5 separate regions of the Homo sapiens genome follow, and all the other regions are linked to region 3. The links are contacts of gene promoters, found by promoter capture Hi-C in blood cells and fetal thymus (Javierre and others, 2016). All regions are on one chromosome and are shown on one strand. The core of a region is centred on a gene start or on the middle of the fragment in contact, and the rest is flanking DNA. Distances in the headings are between cores, read along the strand shown. Region 1 overlaps LOC101928911 (a long non-coding RNA gene). Region 2 holds the start of LOC105377882 (a long non-coding RNA gene). Region 3 holds the start of RARS2 (arginyl-tRNA synthetase 2, mitochondrial). Region 4 has its middle 24 kb from the start of ZNF292. Region 5 overlaps LOC101928911 (a long non-coding RNA gene).

Region 1 (4,935 bases), core at 2,269-4,768, 320 kb before region 3:
ATTATTCAGTGTTGTTGTTATACTTTTGCAACGAATATGAAGTTTTATTCATAAAAATAAACAGGTCACTCAGCCAGGAGGCCAAGAAAACCCAGTAATGTATTTCCTGCTGTAAAGGCACAGTGGGGGCCCTTCTCTGTCCCCACTCTTTATCTCTTTTACACATGGAACCATCTGGGTTGGGGGGCAGGCACAGAGTTCAAGAGGCCCTCACAGGGATTCTGAACAATCCCAGTTCTCAGTGTGCCTGCCATCAGAAAGGGAGAAAGGTGGAAATGTTTCCAATAGAGGAAATAATTAGTGAGAGACACAAAACCACTAAGCTAGAGAGATGCCAGCCATATTTTGAAGAATTAGGTGTGTGGAGGTGTTGCGGGGATGACCTTTGGGACAAAATGCCAGTTTTGAGATATAGCTATGTGCATGGGGGTGTATGCTGAAATGCATCCTTCACCTCTGAAAAGGATAGTAACTAACTTAGGGTCTATTTTCTTCCAGCACTATGCTGGTAACATGTCACTAACAACTGTTTTGGAGGAAAACCAGGATGTGGAACATGTTGCAAATGTAGGCTTTGCCACAGGATAAGTGGGAGTACAACAATGCCTGAGATTGGCCAAGAGGATTTGGAGGGAGCTAAATAATATAGATGGATACAAACTCAGAAGCTTCTTCTTTTTTTTTTTTTTTTTTTGGCAGAGTATCACTTTGTCACCCAGGCTGCAATGCAGTGGCACAATCTCAGCTCACTGCAACCTCTGCCTCCCAGGTTCAAGCGATTCTCCTGCCTCACCCTCCTGAGTAGCTGGGATTATAGGTGTGTGCCACCACACCTAGCTAATTTTTTGTATTTTTAGTAAAGATGGAGTTTCACTATGTTCGCCATGCTGGTCTCGAACTCCTGATCTCAGGACATCTGCCCACCTCGCCCTCCCAAAGTGCTAGGATTACAGACATGAGCCACCACGCCCGGCCAAACTCAGAAGCTTCTTAGCAGGTCTTGCACAAAGTAACAGGGTCCTCTTAAAATCAGTGTAGGCTTTAGGGTCTACAGTTTTGGTAACCTAGTTGAGAATCTCACCCCACTGCTGCTCTGTATAGCCATGGGGATGAAAACTCTCTATTACACACACATATAGAATGCACTGTTGCCCACCTAAACCATTACTACTTAAGATATAGGGCAATCTTAACTAAAATTGCACAACCATCTGGTTAACCCAACTGTTGGACTTATCTCATGCTAGGGGTTTAAGGTAGTGTTTGGGCTCCCAAACTTCTACTCACTCTCCTTCCTCTCCATTGCTGTGGCCAATAGAGCAGACATGCCCAAACAGACATCTGAACAAGAATCCAAATATTGGACTTATAACAGACTAAGCAACTATCTAAATACACCTCTGCCCAAGGTTTAGGCTTCCTGGAAACAGCTAAATTGGAGAATGTGGTTTGGCTACATATCTCCTACCTCAAATTGAGGACAGACAGACTGATGGGAAAGGGGACACCTGAGTAGCACCCTAGTTGTAGTTAGAAAAGCTAGAACAGAAAGTGAAAATCCCTGTCTCCCCTCATCAGTATCATCAGTATAGGAAGAGCTTGCTTTGGTGTACAAAGCAAGGAGGAGGTGGCCCTTTTAACTGACAAATGAGACAGAGCCCGCTTTATTTATTTATTTATTTATTTATTTATTTATTTATTTTGTTTTTAGAGAGATAGACATATGTCCATTCTCTATTGAGGAACATACCCCCATCCTTTTATAATTTTCCAAAAGAAATATCAATCTTTGACCATTTGCATTAGCCATTCATTCACCAAAGGGGAGGAGCAGGGGGCAGATTAGAGAAAGTGTCAGGAAGGTTGATTCCAATACACTTGTATTTGGGAAGATATTCCCCTTCCACAAATCACAGCTCAGTGAAATCTGGGGAGGCCAGCAGAGAACAGAAGGATACTTTAAAAGTTCCAATGCAACTGAAGATGCTGTGCGAGATGCCAAAGAAATAGAAAGAGTTCCTGCCTTTGTAGATCAGGACACCAAACTTGCATAAGATTCAACAAGAAAAAAATAAAATAAAAACACAAAATAATAATAAAGTTCAAACTGTATGATATTATCCACTTCCATCAGGTGAACTTCCAAAGATGAAGGGGGAGAAATTGGGAGGAAAAGGGAGGTCACAGAACAACAATCTTCCCTTCCAGGACATTGCTCTCTGCTGGGGAAGCACCTGTAGTGTGAGGTGCCCAGTCTCAGCTCATGGACCAGCATTTGGGTACTCTTTGGGAGCAACCATTGAGCCCCAAGTTTTCTGAAGCAAAGTGATGACAGATAATCAAGCAGTCACTAGTTGGGCTGCTCCTGAGCTTTGGTTTTCTGCAACTCTGGTACCATTGGTGCCTTAGGCTGGCTTGTCAAACACTCCTGCCATCATTCCACCACTCTCATTTACTCTTTCCCTTCTAAAAGCCTTTTCCAACCAAACAAGTGCCTTTTCTGGCCTTGATCATCACCTGACATCTTTTTAACAACTTTGTTGAGGTATAGTTTGCATGCCATAAAATTCACCTGTTTTAAATGTAAAATGTACTGCCTTTTAGTAAATTTACTGAGTTGTGTAACCATCACCATAATCCATATTTAGAACATTTCTAGCACCCCAATAAGATCCCTTATGCCTGCTTTCACCTAACATCTTAATGATATTGTTTGGCAGGTAGCTAAGAGTAAGGCTAAGACACAAAGGGAAGCAGAGGGAGTAGTGAGCCTTAGAAGGCAAAAGAATACCAGAGAGGTGCAGGTGAGAAATGTAGAAGAGATCAAAGGCTTCACATGGCTCACAGCTCTACTGAAGGCTTCAATGATGGAATGCATGCCAGATGTGGCAATCCTTCATCTCCACTCCTCAATGAAAAGCCATAAGAGTGCATGGCCCCACTAAATGCAACATGACTGACAGCAAAGTGTAGACAACCTCTTTTTCAACATGCCCAATATCTAACAATGCCTTGTGCAAAGTTGAAACTTAATGTTTTTTGAATTGAACTGAAATGAGTTGGAGAGATGAAAAGTTGGAAGAGGAAAAATGTCTTCTCATGGACAATTGTCACCCAACATCCTTTCTCACTTCCCAATGCCCCTCCAGTTTCCTTTTTGATAATTACCTCTTTCCATCATGTGTGGTGTTAGAGGGATGATAATTCCTGGAGTGTAGTAAACCATAGAATCAGATTTTCCTTCTTCCCGTCTCAACATATCCAGGGACAAAAAGTTTCATTTTGACACTATAAACCAATGATGCAAAGTCAGAAGGAATGATTAGACATCATCCATGGCCACAGTTGTCCTGGCCCCAGCCAGACTCAACCTGTGTGAAGCAGATGCTATGCTTCCTGCTTCCTGGCCTTCCAGAGGTGCCCTGTTCCTACCTATTTGCAAGCCCAACTGTCCATCCTCCTGCTGATTCTGTGTCCTCCCAGTAATTCCATTTTATTACCTAGAATTGGTTTCTGTTGCTTGCAACTGAGGAATCCTAACCCCTTCATGCCCTTTAATGGCCATGGCATTGATGAGGTGAGAGGTAACAAGAGTCATGGTGTCACTTCCATAAGAGGCATTCAGGGCAAAAATGGGGGTGACTGAAGAAATTATTTCCTGGCAGGAAAGGAAGAGCAGTCAAAGTTGACCCTAAAGTTTTATATTTCAAATGTGTTTCTACCACACAGGGTTTTTGGTCATTTGAACTTTCACCCAGGTGAGCTAAGAAAACTGGTGGCATATTTCTCATAAATGGATCAACAGCGCAGGCTATTTTAAGACCTAACGTGTGAGGATGAGCAATTTTCACATGCTTTTCACTTCACTGAGAGAACAACCAACATGGCTTGTCGAGCAGTTGGTCTCACTGCTCAACCTCACGCACGTGCCGCCTGGGCCGGTGATTCAGTCCCCCCAAAACACTGCTTCCTTCTGAATTGGAGAGCCAAGGTTATGAGTCAGCCCTGCTCAGAGCCAAGACACTTCGATTCAGTGTTATTTTTTGCCTTACCACACAAGGTTCAAAATGTCCAATCTCTTTTCTTTAATGCCAATGCCCCAATAGTTAGGAATCACAGTCCAGAGCTGCTTTATTAAAAATGTTCATTTTCAGAAATCATTGATCCTGAAATCATTGCACTCTTCTGAAATAAAAAATAAATAGAAAGAAAAATCAATCAAGGAAATAGCAAAATGGTAAGCGGTACAATATGACATGTTAATGCTAAATGCCAGCTTCATGGTTCAACGCCCAATTTATTATGTTGAAAGCACTAGGCAGAAGACAGGCATCAAATGAAATGAGGACTGAATAAATGTGCTACTGCATAAAAACTATTTATGAATTTCCATGCTGTTTGTCATTGAATAAAAGCTATAATCATTTGATAGATATACATTTTTGTCAGTGTTACTTCAAACTGATACTTCATCAAATTGCTACAATCCTTTCAGGTGTGAGAATCATAGAGCTTCTTTGACGGAAATCATGACTTAATGCATGAAAGCTGAAAGACCAGCAAAAATTACAGAGCAACAGCCCATTACTAAAGGGCCATGGTATGAGAGACACATAATGCATTTCACTTGGAAGGGATTTCTGAGTTCACCCCTAAGTCCAATCCCTCCACCCAGAGCTGAAGCCTGCCAGTTATAACACAATCCAGATAACATGCAATGGTGTCGTATCACATACTAATGCTATGGTAATTCTCCTAGTATTTCAAAGACTGGGAATCTGAACCAAGAACAGGAATAGATTAGTCAAGTTTATTCAGCTTATGCCTGCATCCTCTCATTGCCCTCTTTAGAATGGAAATACGTCATCATAGTTCAGTTTCCTGAGGTCGCAAAGATAAGACAATATCTACTTTGATTTCAAACAGAATCATCTG
Region 2 (4,621 bases), core at 430-2,929, 340 kb before region 3:
TGACTGAGGAAGGACCAGCCTGCAAGGGCAGGCCTGTGTCTCCTTGTCCGCTTCTTGCTCTATGAACTCTTGTTCTTGTGTGGGAATCAGGATAGTCAGGACCTTCCCTGTTAGGAAGAAGCTCTTTGGCTCCCCTGTGGCCTTCAGCCTAAGCCACATGCTAGGTTTCAAATTAACCAGAGACACTTTTCACAGGGCAAGTGGGGTAGTATTGTTGTAATTGGAAGCTTGCTGAGATGTTAATAAATATGGTTAGTATTCTTCACTTGGCTGCTGATCTTTGCAGATACAATTTTTTCAGAAGGGAGCATGAGTCTTAGGATTTAGACCCCAATTTCTCTACCTTGACTATTTATTAGAATTCTCCTAAAGTGGTTGAATATTTACTAAAAATCACTTTGTGGCCCTTAGATCCTGTGCAATTCTGTCCTCTGCACTCTGAGTAAAATCCATACTCTGCATTATAAAAAGTCTCAGGTATTTTCTACCACTTTAGCTTTAGTCTGGCAAAGACCAAAGGCAGGGATGGTCCATTTCCACTTAGAACTTCACCTGTAGCTGGATGCATTATTCCTAAATGATTTGTGGAAATTTGGGTTTTAGTCTGTGATGAGACTGTAAGAACCTAGTTCATTGCAAAGGCTTCATTTAGATGTTCACCATCTTTGCCAACTTGGAAATGAGGTCTACCCCACCACTGGGAAGTTTCCAGAACATGAAGATCTTAGAGGTGATCTTGTCAACATCCCACCCAACTCAGCCAATAAGCACATATTGAAATTGTGACCAAAAATTTGCCCATTTACACAAGAGGAAGAGAACCTATTTTCCCCAAACTAACATTCCATAGTTTCTTATTACTTACCCCAAGAGACTCCCACAATCTTTAGAATCAAAATGGTGCTTCCTTCTAGGGTAGATCTTTTGTTTTAGTTCTCTCTCTCTTTTATCTAACAGTTTCTCTCCAGTTGATAGGCCTTCATTTATTTGACAGTCAGTGATTAAGCCATTCTTTGTCTTTCTTTTCTCTAGAAAAGATACAGATTCTGTTCATCCTAAGTATGTACAGGGCCTTTAAAAATCACTCTTGTGGGCCGGGCGCAGTGGCTCACACCTGTAATCCCAGCACTTTGGGAGGCCAAGGTGGGTGGATCACCTGAAGTCAGGAGTTCGAGACCAGCCTGGCCAACATGGTGAAACCCTGTCTCTACTAAAAATGCAAAAAATTAGCTGGGTGTGGTGGTGCACCCCTGTAATCCCAACTGCTCAGGAGGTGGAGACAGGAGAATCGCTTGAACCCAGGAGGCGGAGGTTGCAGTGAGCCGAGATTGCACCATTGCAGTCCAGCCTGGGCGACAGAGTGAGACTTTGTCAAAAAAAAAAAAAAAAAAAAGCACTCTTGTGTATTCCTTTTCCCTAAGAGAGCCATATCTAAACTAGTCCAGATCTAAAACAATGCCAACATTTTCTGGGGGTAACTCACCAGGAATGAACACTTCTCAGTGCTAAAAAGCCTTTTCTATTTTCTTGCTCTAGGTAAAGCTCTTTTCCTCTTCTACTCTGGAAACAGGGAGTAACTGAGCATTGTTCTCTGTAAAAATAACCCTTCATATATTATATATATTCTTTTTTCAAAGTGGCTAAATTACCCTCAAAGTATTGCTTTCTATAAAAGCCCCACAGTATATCCAGCTAAAAGAGGAAGGTTAAATAGAATGTGTGAGCATAGTGATTATTTTAACAATTAGAAATTATTCTGATTTATAAATGCCCTTTCCTTATATATGGTTGCAAATGGTCCTTTTTTCCTTCATCTTCCTGTCTTAGCTTCCCCACCATCAAAACCATCATCCCAAAACCTAACTATTCTGCCTAGAGTGTTGATTATCAAGTTAAATTGTTGGTTTTTCCATATAACCTATCTCTCATCCTCCTACTGACTTCACTACAGTGGGTTGTTTGTTTTCCTGAAGACTGGGCCTTGTGCACCTTCGTGTACTTAAGCCATGCAAAGGGAAGAGAACCTACTCCATATATAGTCACTGGTTGGAAACACAAATGAACAGATGAATGAATCAGAAACACCTGCATACAACCTCTAGATTAGTCAAAAATGCCTAAATAACACCACTGGATTGTGTTCAACCCAACCAGATAATAACTATTTTAACAGCTACCAGTGTTAAGCTCCCCAACCAGGCTTGTTGCTTTACCTATGATATGTCCTTCAGCTTACAACCCCCCTGTGAGGTAAGGGGTTAAGGGAGAGGATTAGCAGAGGTTGAAAGACTGACTGTAATGTCCCCATCCTTTAGTGTCACCCTGATCTTGCCCTCCTCCCTGCCTCCCTGTCTTTAATCATTGAGGTCCTGCAGTCCATGAAGATTTCTGTAGTCCTCATGGGCAGCATTCAATCCGCCAACACTGAGGAAATCAGCCAGCTGGCCTTGCACGAAATCCTTCCTCTCCCATCTCTTTGTCCTGGGCCACAGGAGTGTGTAGTCTGGTTCCCATGTGCCACCTGCTGGTCTCCTGAGTCACTGCTTCCGAAGTGCCTGAGTAGTGCCGAGTAGTGGCTGAAGAAAGGGAAGGAGCGGCCTTTTCACAGCATGTGCACGAAGTGACCCAGATGCCTAGACTGGGGTGTGAATTAGTTCATTCTGACTGCACGTCAGCAGTGGAGACTAGGAACCTGAGGCACTGGGGAAAGAGGTCTCTGCCCAAAGCCATAATCTGTGTTTAGGAATTCTTAGTCAAAGCATTCTTTAGGCATGCAATCTGCCGAACATCCAAAAACAAATGTTTAAAACAGAAAACAAAAGTCTCTGTGCTCATATCATAATAAATACGTGTACAAGATGAATGGGTCAGATAAAACAAGAAAGGGTTATTCGGGTATTTGGTAAACCTATGGCAGTCTCTCTGGAATAAAATAAAGAGAGGAGGGAGGCAGGAAGAGAAGGAAGGAAGGAGAGAAAAATATACACCTTCACCAGAAAAATATTGCTTAATGTACATGTAATTATTCCTAAAAACTCTCCAGCTGAAAATGTTCAGGATTTCTTTTTTTTACTTGAACTAGCCTTTTGGAAATTTATACAAAATAATAAAAATCATTGATTACAAGCTTATTAAAAATTAGATGCAGTCACAGAGATATAAGGTGGGTGCTTATAGAGATAGCAGTATTGATTCGCTAGCAACAGCTCTTCGCTCATAGCTATGATCCAATGAGCTTCTCTGGTGGTTTCCCAAGGGTGAATTATGGCCTCAGTCAGTTGGGTTTCTGGGCAAACATTTACATGAATGATTCTGTACAGAGGCTCTCATGTCTCCTCCCATATATTCTTCATCTAGATCACTAAATAACACTTCTGAATTTCCAGAGACATGTACCTTTGCCTTCTGCTTTAAGAGGTCTTTATTTCAGCTGGGTGTGGTGGTTCATGTCTGTAATCCCAGCACTTTGGGAGGCTGAGGCGGGCGGATCACGAGGTCAGGAGATCGAGACAATCCTGGCCAACGTGGTGAAACCCTGTCTCTACTAAAAATACAAAAATTAGCTGGGCGTGGTGGCACATGCCTATAATCCCAGCTACTTGGGAGGCTGAGGCAGGAGAATCGCTTGAACCAGGAAGTCAGAGGTTGCAGTGAGCCCAGATCGTGCCACTGCACTCCAGCCTGGTGACAGAGCGAGACTCTGTCTCAAAAAAAAAAAAGTCTTTATTTCTCACACACGTTACCTTTGTGTAAAATAGTTTCCCTCCTAAATATCTTCCCCTGCTCTGTTTTCTTCAGCCTGAGGCTCAAAAATTTTTACACGGAAGCCATGTCAATGAATGATTACAGAATTCTTTTCATTTCTTCCTCAAAGGCCAGAAGAATACTGAGGAAGACAATCCCTCCCCATCGTCCTTTTGCCTGAGCTTCTGCTTAAATGCAGGTCTGAGCAAAGTTGAAAACCATGGGCCCTCAGGCAGAGACCTCATAAGCGCTGTATTTAAGGATCTGAACAGGAAATAAAGATTTTGACTTTTTTCTTGGCATTGTGCTTGGCCCTCTGGTTTCTCCTAAGGGCAAGCCCATTTCCTCTGTATCTCGGAGTCTGTTTTGTTTTGTTTTTTATATTATTTTTATTATTTTTTGGGACAGAGTCTTGCTCTATTTCCCAGGCTGGAGTGCAGTGGTGCGATCTCAGCTCACTGCAACCTCCGCCTCCTGGGTTCAAGGGGTTCTCATGCCTCAGCCTCCCAAGTAGCTGGAATTACAGGCTTGCACCACCATGCCCAGCTAATTTTTGTATTTTTAGTAGAGACGGGGTTTCACCATGTTCACCAGGCTGGTCTCGAACTCCTGACCTCAGATGAGCCACCCGCCTCAGCCTTCCAAAGTGCTGGGATTACAGGCCACTGCACCCAACCGGATTATCTGTTTTTAAAATGGGGCCAGAAATTTTGGAATCAGAATGTTAATAATATTATACAATGATGGTTAATATGCACTGAGTGATGACTATGTGCTAGACACTGTGCTAAACATTAACAATGGGTTGTCTCATTTAATGCTCATAAAACCCTATGAGATAGGTAAGAACTCTTATTATCCCCATGTTATGAGTAAG
Region 3 (4,274 bases), core at 1,540-4,039:
AAAATAAAAGACAGAATGAAAGAACGATACCTAGGAAAAGTTGTCTCAGGATAGTGTTAAAGACCGCTGTGCAACTATAAAGTAGCCATTTGGATTACATGTTCCCATTTAAGAACTGTGCCTTAGATTCTTTTTTCTGCTATTGTTGAGACAGAGTCTCCCTCTGTTGCCCAGGCTAGAGTGCAATGGCACAATCTTGGCTCACTGTAACCTCTACCTCCCGGGTTCAGGCGATTCTCCTGCCTCAGCCTCCTGAGAGGCTGGGATTACAGGCGCCCACCAACATGCCAGGCTAATTTTGTATTTTAGTACAGATGTGGTTTCACCATGTTGGTCAGGTTGGTCTCGAACTCCTGACCTCAGATGATCCACCCACCTCGGCCTCCCAAAGTGTTGGGATTACAGGCATGAGCCACTGCACACAGCCCTGTGCCTTATATTCTTATATCTGCAACTAGCAGAAGTGTGCGAAATCACATACATATTTAGAAAAATCATGTGATACCATGACAAACCTGTCATTACCTCCTTTCCAAATCCACCTGCAATTCAGTAAAGGAAAAAGGAGCTTCAAAGGAGCAAGACATGAGGAGTGATCAGAAAGGATCTTAATATAGGGCAGTGGTAGTAACATGGTTAACCATTTGGAACTGCTGGTCAAGTGATGGTGTTTGAGATAGAGGAAGGCCAACAGCCAGAAAATTTCACGATGAAAGAGACACTAAAATGTTTTGATATGTTTAAGGACCGGGCGTGGTGGCTCACGCCTGTAATCCTAGCACTTTGGGAGGCCGAGGCTGGCGGATCACTCGAGGTCAGGAGTTCGAGACCCGCCTGGCCAACATGGTGAAACCCTGTCTCTTCTAAAAATACAAAATTAGCTGGGTGTAGTGGGGCATGTCTGTAATCCCAACTGCCCGGGAGGCTGAGGTGGGAGAATAGCTTGAATCGGGGAGGTGGAGGTTGCAGTGAGCCGAGATCGCGCCACTGCACTCCAGCCTGGTAACAGAGCAAGACTCTGTCTCAAGAAAAAAAAGAAAAGAAAAAGAAAAAAAGCTTGCAGTTCCATAAATTCATGAAATAGTTCTTAAAGCTTCTTATTCATGTAAGGTCTCATCCCAATACAGACATTTGTTATAATACCAAAAATGCTTTCCTGAAAAATCTTACTTTCTGCAAGATACATAAAAATAAGAGGTGCTTATGCAATCAACAGGATTAAGGGATAGACCATTCAAAACCTACAGAACATTATAACCAGGACAAAATAAAACCAGTACCATTTCTAATAAAAATACTACCTTTGAATCTCTACTAGCATAACCTTAAACCCCAGGGCTTGTCCTTTTTCCTTGAGATGTAGTCTTTAAAAGCACTGCTTCTCATAAACCGTTTTAATCAAAATAAAAAATCAGATCCATGACATAGCCTTCTTCATCAATCCATTGTTTTAACATAGGGAGAATGTAGCTTCTTCATGTGCATTTTTCAGCTTTCTCAGACAGCTTAACTTCAGGGGCTTCCCGCTGCACTTACAATAGAACTCAAGGTCTTACTTTTTGTGGTCCAGAACAGCGCTGTCCAACAGAACTTTCTGTAATGATAGAAATGTCCTATATCTGCACTATCTAAAATGGTAGCTGCAGCCACATGTGATGATTGAGCACTTGAAATGTGGTTAGTGCAACGGAGAAACTGAATTTTTATTTAATCTTACTTTATTTTAACTCAAATTTAAATAGCCACATGTGGTGAGTGACTAACACATTGGACAATACAGCTCTAGGGCTTATCTTCTTACCAACTACACTATGTCTTGCAATTTCTTGCCATCTAGGTAGCCAACATGAGGAGGTCTATAAGATATCCCACCACACACACCCGCATCCACATTACTTTTTCATTCTCATTTTTCATGACGCTCCCACTCTTTGTCTACTTTCTGATTATGATTTTTAAATTCCTCTAATATGCCATTTTATTTCTATCTTCTGGGCCGAAGAAACATGCTGTTCTCTCTGCCCTCCTCGCCCTAATCCTTAACCTAACTTCTACTCATTTTTCAGGTCTCAGCGAAAGGGTCACTTTCTCCAAAAAGCCTCCGCTAACCCCCGACAACCTATATTAGGTTCTTCCCACTCTTCTGTTGTCTGCCTAGAACTCTTTTCCTTGCTAACACTTAAAATTTGTGATCGTCAGTTTATCTATGTTTACCGACTTTCTTGACTGCAGAAACTGAATCTGTTTTGTTTACCACTGCATCTTGGTACCTAACGGAGTGCTTGGCGCACAGTATTTGTGAGATGGAAAAATGAGAGACTGGGCCACATCATCAGGACATCCGACCTCCACCAACCAGAACTTAAAAATCCTCCTAGCCATACCACAAGGCAGATCCGCGTCCTCGCTCCCCAAGCAAAGTTGGCCTCAACTGATCTGGAGCAAGGACGCCTCAGCTCAGTACGCCGCTCCCTCCCTCCTCTCCAGCCAGGGAAGGGATGCCTACGTAACCTCGGCTTCATCCCTTCTTCAAAGGGGAATGAGGCAGCGGTAGAGCCACAGTGCGCATCGGCCACCACATACCTTAGACATCGAGGACGTAGCCATGGTCTTACTGACTCTGCGTATTCCAGATGCACTCGGGATTTCCCGCGCGCCCTCGCGGCTGCAGGGCAGAGGTTAGTGGCGAGCCACACGGCTCCTTGATTGGCTGGCATCACCCTCCGGGGCGGGTTTCCGGCGCGGGGAGGCGGGTCGTATAAGGAGGTGGGGCGAGGCCGGAACTGGCGGACTGCGGCGCACTTCCGTAGAGGTGGACATGGCGTGCGGCTTTCGCCGCGCTATTGCTTGCCAGGTATGGATCCCGGAGCGCGCAGAGGAGTCCCTGAGGAGCTAGGGACCCCAAAGGCCTTTCACCGCTGCGGGCCAGTCCTCAGTCAGCTGGAGGGTGGGTCCCACGGAATCCTGTTAGTTTCTACCACCTCCTCCCCCTTCTCTGGAGCTGGTGGAGCTTCAGAAGTCCTGTGGAGCGTCGGCTGGGATCAGTTTGTCTCGGTGAAAAGTAAACTTTGAAAGGTACCTGGTGCTTTCTTCTCTCCTTCCCACCCCACAGCTATGAATGCTTTACCTGGGTGGCGGCAAGTCATTAGACCATGATTAGACCCCATAGAAGTTAGTGTTCTTTACACTTTAGTGACATTGATGATGGATCTGGATTGTTCTTCAGAAGGACCTCATTTTAAAGCTGCTTATTTCTCTTGCAGTCACTTAGGCAGCCTACCCTAGAATTGTTTTTGGTAACGCCCAAAGATATAAGAGCTATCTGAGACTCAGTTTTTCTTGGTTCAGGGTCGTATTTGAACAGCTCTGTTGTGAGGAAGGGCTTACAAAATTGCAATATAATTGCTTTGTTTTGTTTTTCCTTTTTGTGGAGAACGGGGTCTCGCCGTATTGCCCAGGCAGGCCTCAAACTCCTGGGCTCAAGCTGTCCTCCCTCCTCTGCTTCCCTAAGAGCCGGGATTACAGGCCTGAGCCACCGCGCTGGGCAAAATTGCAGTATAAATGTGGAATTAATCAAAAAGAATTTTTAAGACTCATTGGCCACCCTTGCAAGGAAACTTTCTATTGTGGTCTTGGCTAACCCATTTCCTTCTGATTAATGGATGTACTAGTGGACGTAATTAGCCTGGTGTATAATTTATCTTGGCTCATTTTTACAGTATTTCTAGACATTTGTGGGGAAATCCCTCTGCCTTGTCTTTATGTTTATAGATGTACTGCCCTGTCCGGTGATAATTCGCCAAATATCACCAACATGACATTTTGTTAAGACAGCTGAATTTATTGCTCACTGGGATAAGGAAGAACACCACTGAGAGCTTTGGTAGTGTATTAAACTGGGAAAGCAAGGTCAGATTTTACTGATGGGTATGGCTTAAGGCTGGTCTTTCAGAGGGAGAGGGTAGGAGGGTGTTGGAGGAAGATGGCTTGATTAGGGTTGGACTCTGATCTGATACAGCGGTTTAAGATTGATAGGAAAAGCAAAGAGTGCAAGAAGCCTTAAGGCATAAACTATTGAGGTTTTCTATTGGAAGAACTAATAGGCCTGGCATGTGGTTCATGCCTATAATCCCAGCACTTTGGGAGGCCAAGGTGGGAGGATGGCTTGAGCCCAGGAGTTCGAGACCAGCGTGGACAACATAGGTAGACCCCGTCTCAACAAAATTTTTTTTAAAAAGTAGCCAGGCATGATGGTGCACCTCTGTAGTCCTAGC
Region 4 (4,365 bases), core at 1,447-3,946, 460 kb after region 3:
GGATGGCAGAAGATGACAACCTGATCGGATAACAAGGGTGATCACATGTCAATAGTGGAGGGTTCTTGCTAAGCTGACTTAGGGTTCTTTGCTAAAACTGGATTTTGGAAGGAAGTACACAGATGGGCCTAAGAGAAGGTTCAGGAGCCTGGCTAAAGCAAGAAATCTTTGTCAATTCCTACCTGAGAGCAAATTAAAAAACCAAAAAACCTCTTCCTGTGCTGGAAGAGGGAGAGAACATTGGAAATAAAACAAAAGAGACCCCTAGAAAAGAGGCCTGCACCTCTCCAAACCAATCCCTGGATAGAGACAGGGATGATTTGATAGACTATTGAGATAAATTTAGGCATCTAAGAGTGTGTGTGTCTAGTGTCCTGCTTTTTGCCAGGAGGCCCTTTGGATCAGATGAGATGTTTAGGGTAGCCTAAACAATAAAGAGACTTCCAGGAAGAAGTTCAGTTGCACACAACTTGTTCTTTCATCCCTAACTCTATTTTAAAAACCGTACATAGCAGATACGTAATTAATGAACTAGAGCTATTTATAAAAATATCAATGAGGCCAGGTGCAGTGGCTCACGCCTGTAATCCCAGTGCTTCAGGAGGCCAAGGCAGGTGGATTACTTGAGGTCAGGAGTTTGAGACCAGCATGGTCAACATGGTGAAACCCTGTCTTTACTAAAAATACAAAAATTAGCCTGGGCCTGGTAGCGGGCACCTGTAATCCCAGCTACTCGGGAGGCTGAGGCAGGAGAATCCCCCCTGAACCCAGCAGGTGGAGGCTGCAGTAAGCTGAGATCGTTCCAGCCTGGGCAACGAGAGCAAAACTCTATCACAAAAAAAAAAAAAAAAAATCAATGAATTAAACAAATATTTATTGAATGTTATGTGTGATCATTTTAGAGAACTACAGAGGGAATAATATGTGGCCCATACAATCAATGTTTTAAGAGTCGTAGAAAGGAAAAATTCAGAGTACAATGAAGTAAGATTCATGGAGAAAGCAGGTCTTGGGTGGGAGGTGGCAACCTATTTAGTAAAAATAAAACAACTCCCCACTCTGAAAAAAAAAAAAAAGGCAGTCAAGGAAAGAATAGGTCTTCAAAAGGATGATCTTTTATTTCTGGAATCCCTTCTAGGCTAAACTCAATCACTAAAGCATGAAAGTATAAAAATGCAAAAGAATTAAAAACCAATAATAAATGACAAGTCTTATTCCTCTTAAGTTGTTCAATCCAGCAATGAGTAAAGAAATGCTCTTTGTTAAGGATTAATTGTGGATGTAGATATACTAAACGACTTCACTTCAGCAGGCAAAAGGGAATTACAGCTTTTTGTTTTTTCTCCTTGGTTAGTCTTCAGGCAGCAATGTTAAAAAACACCAAAATTATTCTGAAAAGTAAATTTCCCTAAAGAATCAAGTGCATTGCTTCTTATGTTAAGGACCAAGTGCTGCAGTTTGAGGGAATTTCTTGGGTGCTAAATTGTGAAATCATGGTGTGTGTGTGTGTGTGTTTGTGTGAGTTTCTTAAGAAAGCCCTTTCACTTATACCTCTTGGCTAAGCTTCTGTTGCTTCATTACTTCCTCCAGGTGCTTTTCTCAGAAAACATAACTATTTCATTACTTACTCTGAAAGGGTATTATGAAGCTGCTATGGAATAACTTGTGTCCCTTCGAAATTCTTATGTGAAGCCCTAACTCTCAGTGTGATAGTATTTGGAATGGAGCTTTGGACAGTAATTAGGTTTAGATGAAGTCATAGGGTTGGGGCCCCATGATGGGATTAGTGCCCTTATAAGAAGAGAGGCCAGATAACTTGCCCTCTTTCTCTCCCTGCCATGTGAGGATACAGCAAGAAGGCATCTTCTGCAAGCTAGAAAAAAGGTTCTTGCCAGAACCCGATCATACCGGCATCCTGATCTTGGATTCCAGCCACCAGAACTTCGAGAAAATGAATTTCTGTTGTTTAAGCCACACAGTCTATGGTATTTTGTTATGGCAGCCCGAGCTGACTAAGAAGCATTGCATTTGCCAGCAAGAGGATGCTTTCTGAATGTCAAGTGATTATTGACTTTTAGTCTACCGGAATGCATTATCATGAACATAAACTACTGTCTTTTACCACTTATATATCATCATGTCAGTGCTGGAGCTGAGTCTAATTACAAAATGCCAGTGGCAAAGAGACACCAATTGTTACTGTTTAAGAGAGTATAACTTAGACAGCAGAACTAGGCACAAATGAAAAAGAAGCCCTTAATGTTAGCTCAGAGATTAGGAAGCCTCACATCTCCCTGTGTAAGGGCCACACTTTTACAATTTGTACATATTACAAACTTTCTGTTTATGATAAACTTTACTTATTACCATATATACAGAGCTCAAGATGTTTTTGCTTGATGCGTATGTCTAGTTGAACAAGTATAAACCTGAAAAGCACTCTAATGCTTATGATTTGAGCTGCAATAGCAGACTCTATAGCAATGCCTTCTTGGAAAGTGTGGTGTAGAGAACCTTCAGAATGTTCAGACTGAATGACTCAATGAATCCCAGATTGGTTCAATGGCTTGAATCAGGTATGAGGGCATGTGTAGGAGAGAAACTGCTTGAGTTATCTAAGCCATTCCTAAGCCAGGAACATAAATTATCAGCCCCACCTTTTGGGGAAAGTCACATTATCTCATAAATTATGGTGACTGTGCTATATATACAGAATCAGGGGATGTCTGCATGAAAGTAATGACTAGAAGCTACTTTTGAAGACTTGTAAGGACAGTAATTTTTCTTCAAGTGCAAGTTCCCTTTATATGAAATTCTGGTATACTTAACCTCATTTCTGATTATGTGTTTTGGTAAGCATGAAAATTTTATTTCTAAAATAGGTTACTGATTGTTTTGGGGGGCAATTAAGAAAAGAGTGCTGTTACAGTGACTCAGGCCTATAATCCCAGCACTTTGGGAGGCCAAGACAGGCAGGTGGCTTGAGCCCAAGGGTTCGAGACCAGCTTGGGCAACATGGCGAAATCCTGTCTCTACAAAAAAATACAAAATGTGGCAGGGCATATTGGCATATGCCTGTAGTCCCAGCTACTCAGGAGACTGAGGCGGGAGGATCACTTGAGCCCAGGGTGGTTGAGGGTTCAGTGAGCCATGATTGCACCACTGCACTCCAAACCGAGTGACAGATGGAGACAGAGTCTCAAAAAGATAAATAAATAGGCTGGGCACAGTGGCTCACATCTGTAATCCCAGCACTTTGGGAGGCTGAGGTGAGCAGATCACATGGGGTCAGGAGTTCGAGACCAGCCTGGCCAACATGGTGAAACCCCGTCTCTACTAAAAATATAAAAATTAGCAGGGAGTGGTGGTGTATGCCTGTAATCCCAGCTACTTGGGAGGCTGAGGCAGGAGAATGGCTTGAACTTGGGAGGCGGAGGTTGCAGTGAGCTCATGCCATTGCACTCCAGACTGGGGGATAAGAGCGAAACTCCATCTCAAAAATAAATAAATAAATAAAATAAAACACAAAATACAAAATAAAAAGAGAGAATTAGAAATAGAAAATAAAAAGAGAGAATTAGAAATAGAAAATAGGAAAATGGCAAAAATATTGATGGCATATTAGGAGAACAAAAGTTTAGAAATTAAGCTAGAGAAAGAAAGATGAAAACAAATCCAACTCTGGGAACCACCCTGCTACATCTGTTAGAAGCAAGGAACTGAGATACCTCTAAAGGGTCAGGTGAACTGGGGACTGCCTTTAGGCCTACAGTGGGATTCTGGGGGCCAATAGTAAACAGTACTGGGTCATAAAAGCAGAAAAGCTTTAAATATTTGAATGAAGAAGCAGGCACACAAAAAGAATAACTTTTAGGATGTCTATTAACCTATAGAAAAGTTAAACAAGTTTACCAGCATTTCCTTGAAACTATAAGGAAAGCAGATTCTAAAAAGTTTCTCATAATCTGGAAATGTAAATGTAAATTAATTTATGGTGCTCGTCATTATCCATTTGAAATGTTTTAAAATCCAGCCTCAACCTCAGCCCTTATCTAATAGATCAAATGCACAGTGAAAGGATGACTGTATTTGACAGATGTTTTCAAATCTGTTCAGTTTCACTATATATATGTTTATTTTATATATATATGATATCCCCGAAAGGAGTTATGATATATGATATATATACCATATATAATATATATGATATACATGATATATGATATACATGATATCATATATGATATACATATATATGATATATACGATATACATATATATGATACATACGATATACATATATATGATACATACGATATACATATATATGATACATACGATATACATATATGATACATACGATAT
Region 5 (4,653 bases), core at 1,570-4,069, 270 kb before region 3:
TTTTTCAAAGCTTCATGCAGAAAAGATTTACAGTAGCTCATAAATGTCTAAATTACCACATGTATTCATCTTACAAAAGTTGACTGTTGCTTTTTTACCTAAGAAGTCTCAGATCTCTAGACACACATTGATAAATATCACCGAATGCTGTATTTTTCCATACCTCTAACAAGCATGTGACAGCCACAGCTGAACACAAGTACCTCAACGAGCAGGACAATCAAAATTAACCACAGGTATAAGTTAGTGACAGAAGATCAAACAGAGCTCCAATAGTAAACCTGCTGTCCACTATGGAACAAGATGGGTCAAGAGAATCAGAGGGTGGGCAGAGACGGCCTCCAGGGAATGATGTTTATTGAGCAGCAGTTGGTTCAAGCCTAGATTGCTTGGCAGGCAAACTCCTCTCTTCATTGTTGTTGTTTTGTTGAAGGTTGAGGGGAGTGTTTCATTTGTTTGTTTGGCTCAAGAGAAATAAAGTTGTCTTGATTCATGTCAAGCAGAGCAGGCGCCCAGCTCTTCACTGGCTGACACTTCTTAATGACCGTCTGGGCAGGGATCCCAAAATGAATCAGGCCACCCATGAGAGGCTCACTCACCCCTAGAAGATTCTTAATAATTATCTGGTGCTTGGTTAATAGAGAATAACAGAACACACTTCTAATCAAAGTGAAGCACCTTTTCAAATCCCAGATGTCCAAAAAATTACCTGGTAGAAGGAGATTGGGTTGTTCAATGTGGTTTTCTCCTGAATGTTAAAACCAAGGACAGTGTGATAGCAAATCTAAGTACAAAACTCAAAGACAAGTCTAAATCTGTAAGTTTTAAAAATATATTAGGACCAATATTCTTAAGAAAAGATATACCAACTAAAAAGCATAGCAAATAACATACTTCTTAAGGAAACTCTACAGATAGTTTCCAGAACATGCAGTTTCTAAAGTTCACAGTGGTTCTAATGCATCATTTTTAAATAAACTCAAAGTTCACTGAACAATGTATTATTAGAGTGGCTCCCTTTTGGGAGAAATAATAATATATCATTCCATAAGATTACCAAGCAGATACCTGGGGACACCTTCCAAAAGTCAGCATCCTTACCTCAAATTTCATAATCAACTCCATTGGTGGACCACAGTGAACTGACTAGTGTCAGGCCTCTGAGCCCAAACCAAGCCATCGCATCCCCTGTGACTTGCACGTATATGCCCAGATGGCCTGAAGTAACTGAAGAATCACAAAAGAAGTGAAAATGCCCTGCCCTGCCTTAACTGATGACATTCCACCACAAAAGAAGTGTAAATGGCCGGTCCTTGCCTTAACTGATGACATTCCACCACAAAAGAAGTGAAAATGGCTGGTCCTTGCCTTAAGTGATGACATTACCTTGTGAAAGTCCTTTTCCTGGCTCTTCCTGGCTCAAAAAGCTCCCTCACTGAGCACCTTGCAACCCCCACTCCTGCCCACCAGAGAACAAAGCCCCTTTGACTGTAATTTTCCTTTACCTACCCAAATCTTATAAAACGGCCCCACCCCTATCTCCCTTCGCTGACTCTCTTTTCGGACTCAGCCCGCCTGCACCCTGGTGATTAAAAGCTTTATTGCTCACACAAAGCCTGTTTGGTAGTCTCTTCACACGGACGCGCATGAAAACTAGCATCAAGAGGATGTTGGCCATCTGAAAAGCTTGGTATTTTTAAACAGACACAACTAAAAGGAGAAAGGATTGCCTGAGATAGAGAACCTTGGAAATGGTGATGTTAAAGCAACTAACGTTCCAACCTCCTGCCAGCATAGAGTCCCACTGCCTTGACAGTTTCAGGGAAAGGAGGAAGACACATGAGACTGACAATTATAACACATCCTTTAACATTAATTCCTGTGGATACACAAGGACAAATCATCAAACTATCTATTTGACATGACTCAGAGAAGCACTAGGTTCAAATAACCTTGCATGGATCCATGAAGAACAGCCTGAGAGGTAGTTCTTCTACTACAGGGTTGATCTACATGTTATGTAGATAAGGGAGGCAGAATTAGAGCTAATTTCCTCCAGAGATTCAAGTCTAGTCTACATTATATTCTCATTAATTACTTATCAAAATATGGCTTAACACTTAGTCAAAGGCCAGACCGAAGTATAATCGAGCCGAGTGGCTTGATGTCAGTCCAAGCACCATAGAGTATCATTACAGTGAAGACTTGAATTACAATGCACAGCTTAGTCCTTCAGATGACACAAAGTAGGGTGGAGCTGTTTGGCAGTCATGGTATCCTAATTAAAAGCACTTGTAATTTTAAAAATAGGAAAAGATGCTCAACTTCATTAGTCATCAAGGAAGCACAAATTAAAGCACATGTGATGCAATTACATACCACTAGAATGGCTAAAATGAAAAAGACTGACAATACAAAGTGTTGGTGAAGGTGTGGAGCAATAAGCACTCTCAAACTCATGGGGGTTTAAATTGGCCCAACCAGTTTGGAAAAACTGTTTGTCAATATCTAGTAAAGCTGAGCATACACATACCTGATGACTCCACGATCCCATCTCTAGGTCTATACCCAACAGAAATGGGTACGCATGTTCACCAAATCACTTCCACCTTTAGGCTATTGTAAAGAGTGCTGCTATAGATATTCTTCACAGAGTATTCAAAAGTTCGAAAACAGGCAAAACCAATCGATGGTGTCAAGAAGTCAGAATAGTGATACTATTGGGGCAGGGAGAGAATGTTGCTGGTAATATTCTGTTTCTTGATCCAGACATTGGTTACACAGGTCTGCTCACTTTGCCAAAAAAAAATTTTTTTTTTTGAGATGGAGTCTCGCTCTGTTGCCCAGGCTGGAGTGCAGTGGCGCGATCTCGGCTCACTGAAAGCTCCACCTCCCGGGTTCATGCCATTCTCCCACCTCAGCCTCCCATGTAGCTGGAACTACAGGCGCCCACCACCATGCCCGGCTAATTTTTTTGTGTACTTTTAGTAGAGACAAGGTTTCACCATGTTAGCCAGGACGGTCTCGATCTCCTGACCTCATGATCCGCCCACCTTGGCCTCCCAAAGTGCTGGGATTACAGGTGTGAGCCACCATGCCTGGTCCACTTTGCAAAAATTTATTGAGCTGTCTACTTATAATTTGTATACTTATAATAGTATTGTATTCTATATGATATGGCCGAATTTTGTCCCCACAAAATTATATGTTGAAGCCCTAATACCCAATGTGATGGTATTTGGAGCCAGGACCTTTGGGAGATAAATGGGTTTAGATGAGGTCATAAGAATGGGGCTCTCATGATATGATTAGTGTCCTTATAATAAGAGACACCAGGGAGCTTGGTCTCTGTCTTTCTGCCATGTGAGGACACAGCAAAAAGGCGACTGTCTGCAGTCTAGGAAGGAGGTACTCATTGGAACCAAATATGCCAGCACCTTGATTTTGGACTTCCCAGCCTCCAGAGCTATGAGAAATAAATGCCTGTTGTTTAAGCCACATAGTCAAGGGTATTTTGTAAGAGCCCGGCAAAAGGAGGAAGCTAGGCATGTGTGAGGCCACCTTCATCATTTTCTTCCTATAATCAAATTGGACACAGGAAACGATTTCCTTATAAAAAGAGAATTGAAAGAGTCAATATAAGTTCCCCCAAGTTATTCCTCCTTGATTATTTGGGTCTGTCAAGTGAAGTGCTTACAGTTTTAATGGCCAGACAGTGCTTACAACTTTAGCTGTGTTTTGCCTGTGTAAAGACAAGTTTGGTATTCAACGCTAAGACTAACAAAGTTATAGAAAAATGCATAAGTGCAATTTTAACTCTATTAGAGATGCAAACCTTTGGGAACATGGATATGTGCTTTTACCTATTTTAAGTGTGAAAATGGAATGTGATTAAGAACAACCACCCTGTTAGATAATATGCATCTTTAGAAATGGACCTGTGATAAGCTTTTAGTGGTAATTTAGTAACTAGCTATAAATATTGACCATAAAACTTAGTTAGCAGAGCATCTCAGAATGTTTTTATTTATTAATAATGAAAGTTTATAGAGCTCTTTCTGGAATGGTTGTTTGGGCCCAGAATCTAACTTCACACCACTCTTTGGTCTGTGTCTGCCTGAGGCAGTGATTCATCTTAGACATCCTCTGGAGACCCCTCCAACTTCTGTGGTTCTGCAATAAAGAGATAACCTACAAGAAAGAAATCAGCATGCAAAGAAAACATCTTCATTGGAACACTCGTTCTGGTATGGATTCTCCAAATTATCTTTTCCTAGGAATTCGAGACTATTGTTCCTTCTTAAATCGGGAAGAAGAATATTTAGGTATAAATCTCCTACACTTCCTGATCTCCACAACAGAAAAAAGAATCAAACAATTTATCACTCTGATACTGAATCGAGAGTGGTTAAAAGTAGTAAATTAGTAGAGAATCTTATGGCTGTACAGAGCCACAGTAAAATAATCAGCAAGATAAGAAAAGAGAAAGAAAACGAGCAACAGAGAGAGAACCAAGGAGATTCCAGGTAAATAATTCTCATTTTTTTAGGATATTGGCCTGAGGCATTTTTGTGAATTTTAGATAAAGATATTCAGCCTCTGCAGAAACCTTTAATGAAACACCCAACCCAACAATAATGTATTTTCCTGCTG

What was found. The method cuts DNA at HindIII sites, captures the fragments that hold promoters and counts their contacts. A CHiCAGO score of 5 or more calls a contact.
Region 1: a fragment that was not itself captured here is called in contact with the fragment with the promoter of RARS2 in region 3 in 1 of 17 cell types (neutrophils); the score reaches 6.3 in neutrophils.
Region 2: a contact is called between a fragment that was not itself captured here and the fragment with the promoter of RARS2 in region 3, in 1 of 17 cell types (neutrophils). The highest score is 5.3, in neutrophils.
Region 4: a contact is called between a fragment that was not itself captured here and the fragment with the promoter of RARS2 in region 3, in 2 of 17 cell types (total CD8 T cells and naive B cells). The highest score is 6.6, in total CD8 T cells.
Region 5: a contact is called between a fragment that was not itself captured here and the fragment with the promoter of RARS2 in region 3, in 1 of 17 cell types (neutrophils). The highest score is 5.2, in neutrophils.

Annotation. Positions count from the first base shown.
Region 1 is chr6:87,909,032-87,913,966 of GRCh38, reverse strand. It overlaps LOC101928911 (a long non-coding RNA gene), which reads right to left. Exons shown (of 5, transcript NR_110869.1): 3 at 4,053-4,185; 4 at 3,169-3,288; 5 at 2,236-2,315. Among named protein-coding and RNA genes, the nearest start is that of SPACA1, 140 kb to the left of the region's middle. The HindIII fragment of the contact is 5,060 bases long and covers 989-4,935 here.
Region 2 is chr6:87,927,888-87,932,508 of GRCh38, reverse strand. It overlaps LOC105377882 (a long non-coding RNA gene), which reads right to left and starts at 1,068. Exons shown (of 3, transcript XR_001744246.1): 1 at 866-1,068. The HindIII fragment of the contact is 2,900 bases long and covers 230-3,129 here.
Region 3 is chr6:87,588,502-87,592,775 of GRCh38, reverse strand. It overlaps RARS2 (arginyl-tRNA synthetase 2, mitochondrial), which reads left to right and starts at 2,789. Exons shown (of 20, transcript NM_020320.5): 1 at 2,789-2,854. The coding sequence starts at 2,819. ORC3 (origin recognition complex subunit 3) reads right to left here and starts at 2,641. Exons shown (of 20, transcript NM_012381.4): 1 at 2,584-2,641. The coding sequence starts at 2,607. RefSeq lists enhancers at 323-823, 824-1,324, 2,705-2,934, 2,698-3,659. The HindIII fragment of the contact is 3,839 bases long and covers 1,096-4,274 here.
Region 4 is chr6:87,129,028-87,133,392 of GRCh38, reverse strand. No RefSeq gene overlaps it. Among named protein-coding and RNA genes, the nearest start is that of ZNF292, 24 kb to the left of the region's middle. The HindIII fragment of the contact is 2,261 bases long and covers 1,566-3,826 here.
Region 5 is chr6:87,858,859-87,863,511 of GRCh38, reverse strand. All of the region lies in intron 2 of LOC101928911 (a long non-coding RNA gene), which reads right to left. Among named protein-coding and RNA genes, the nearest start is that of AKIRIN2, 160 kb to the right of the region's middle. RefSeq lists an enhancer at 1,011-1,824. The HindIII fragment of the contact is 2,262 bases long and covers 1,689-3,950 here.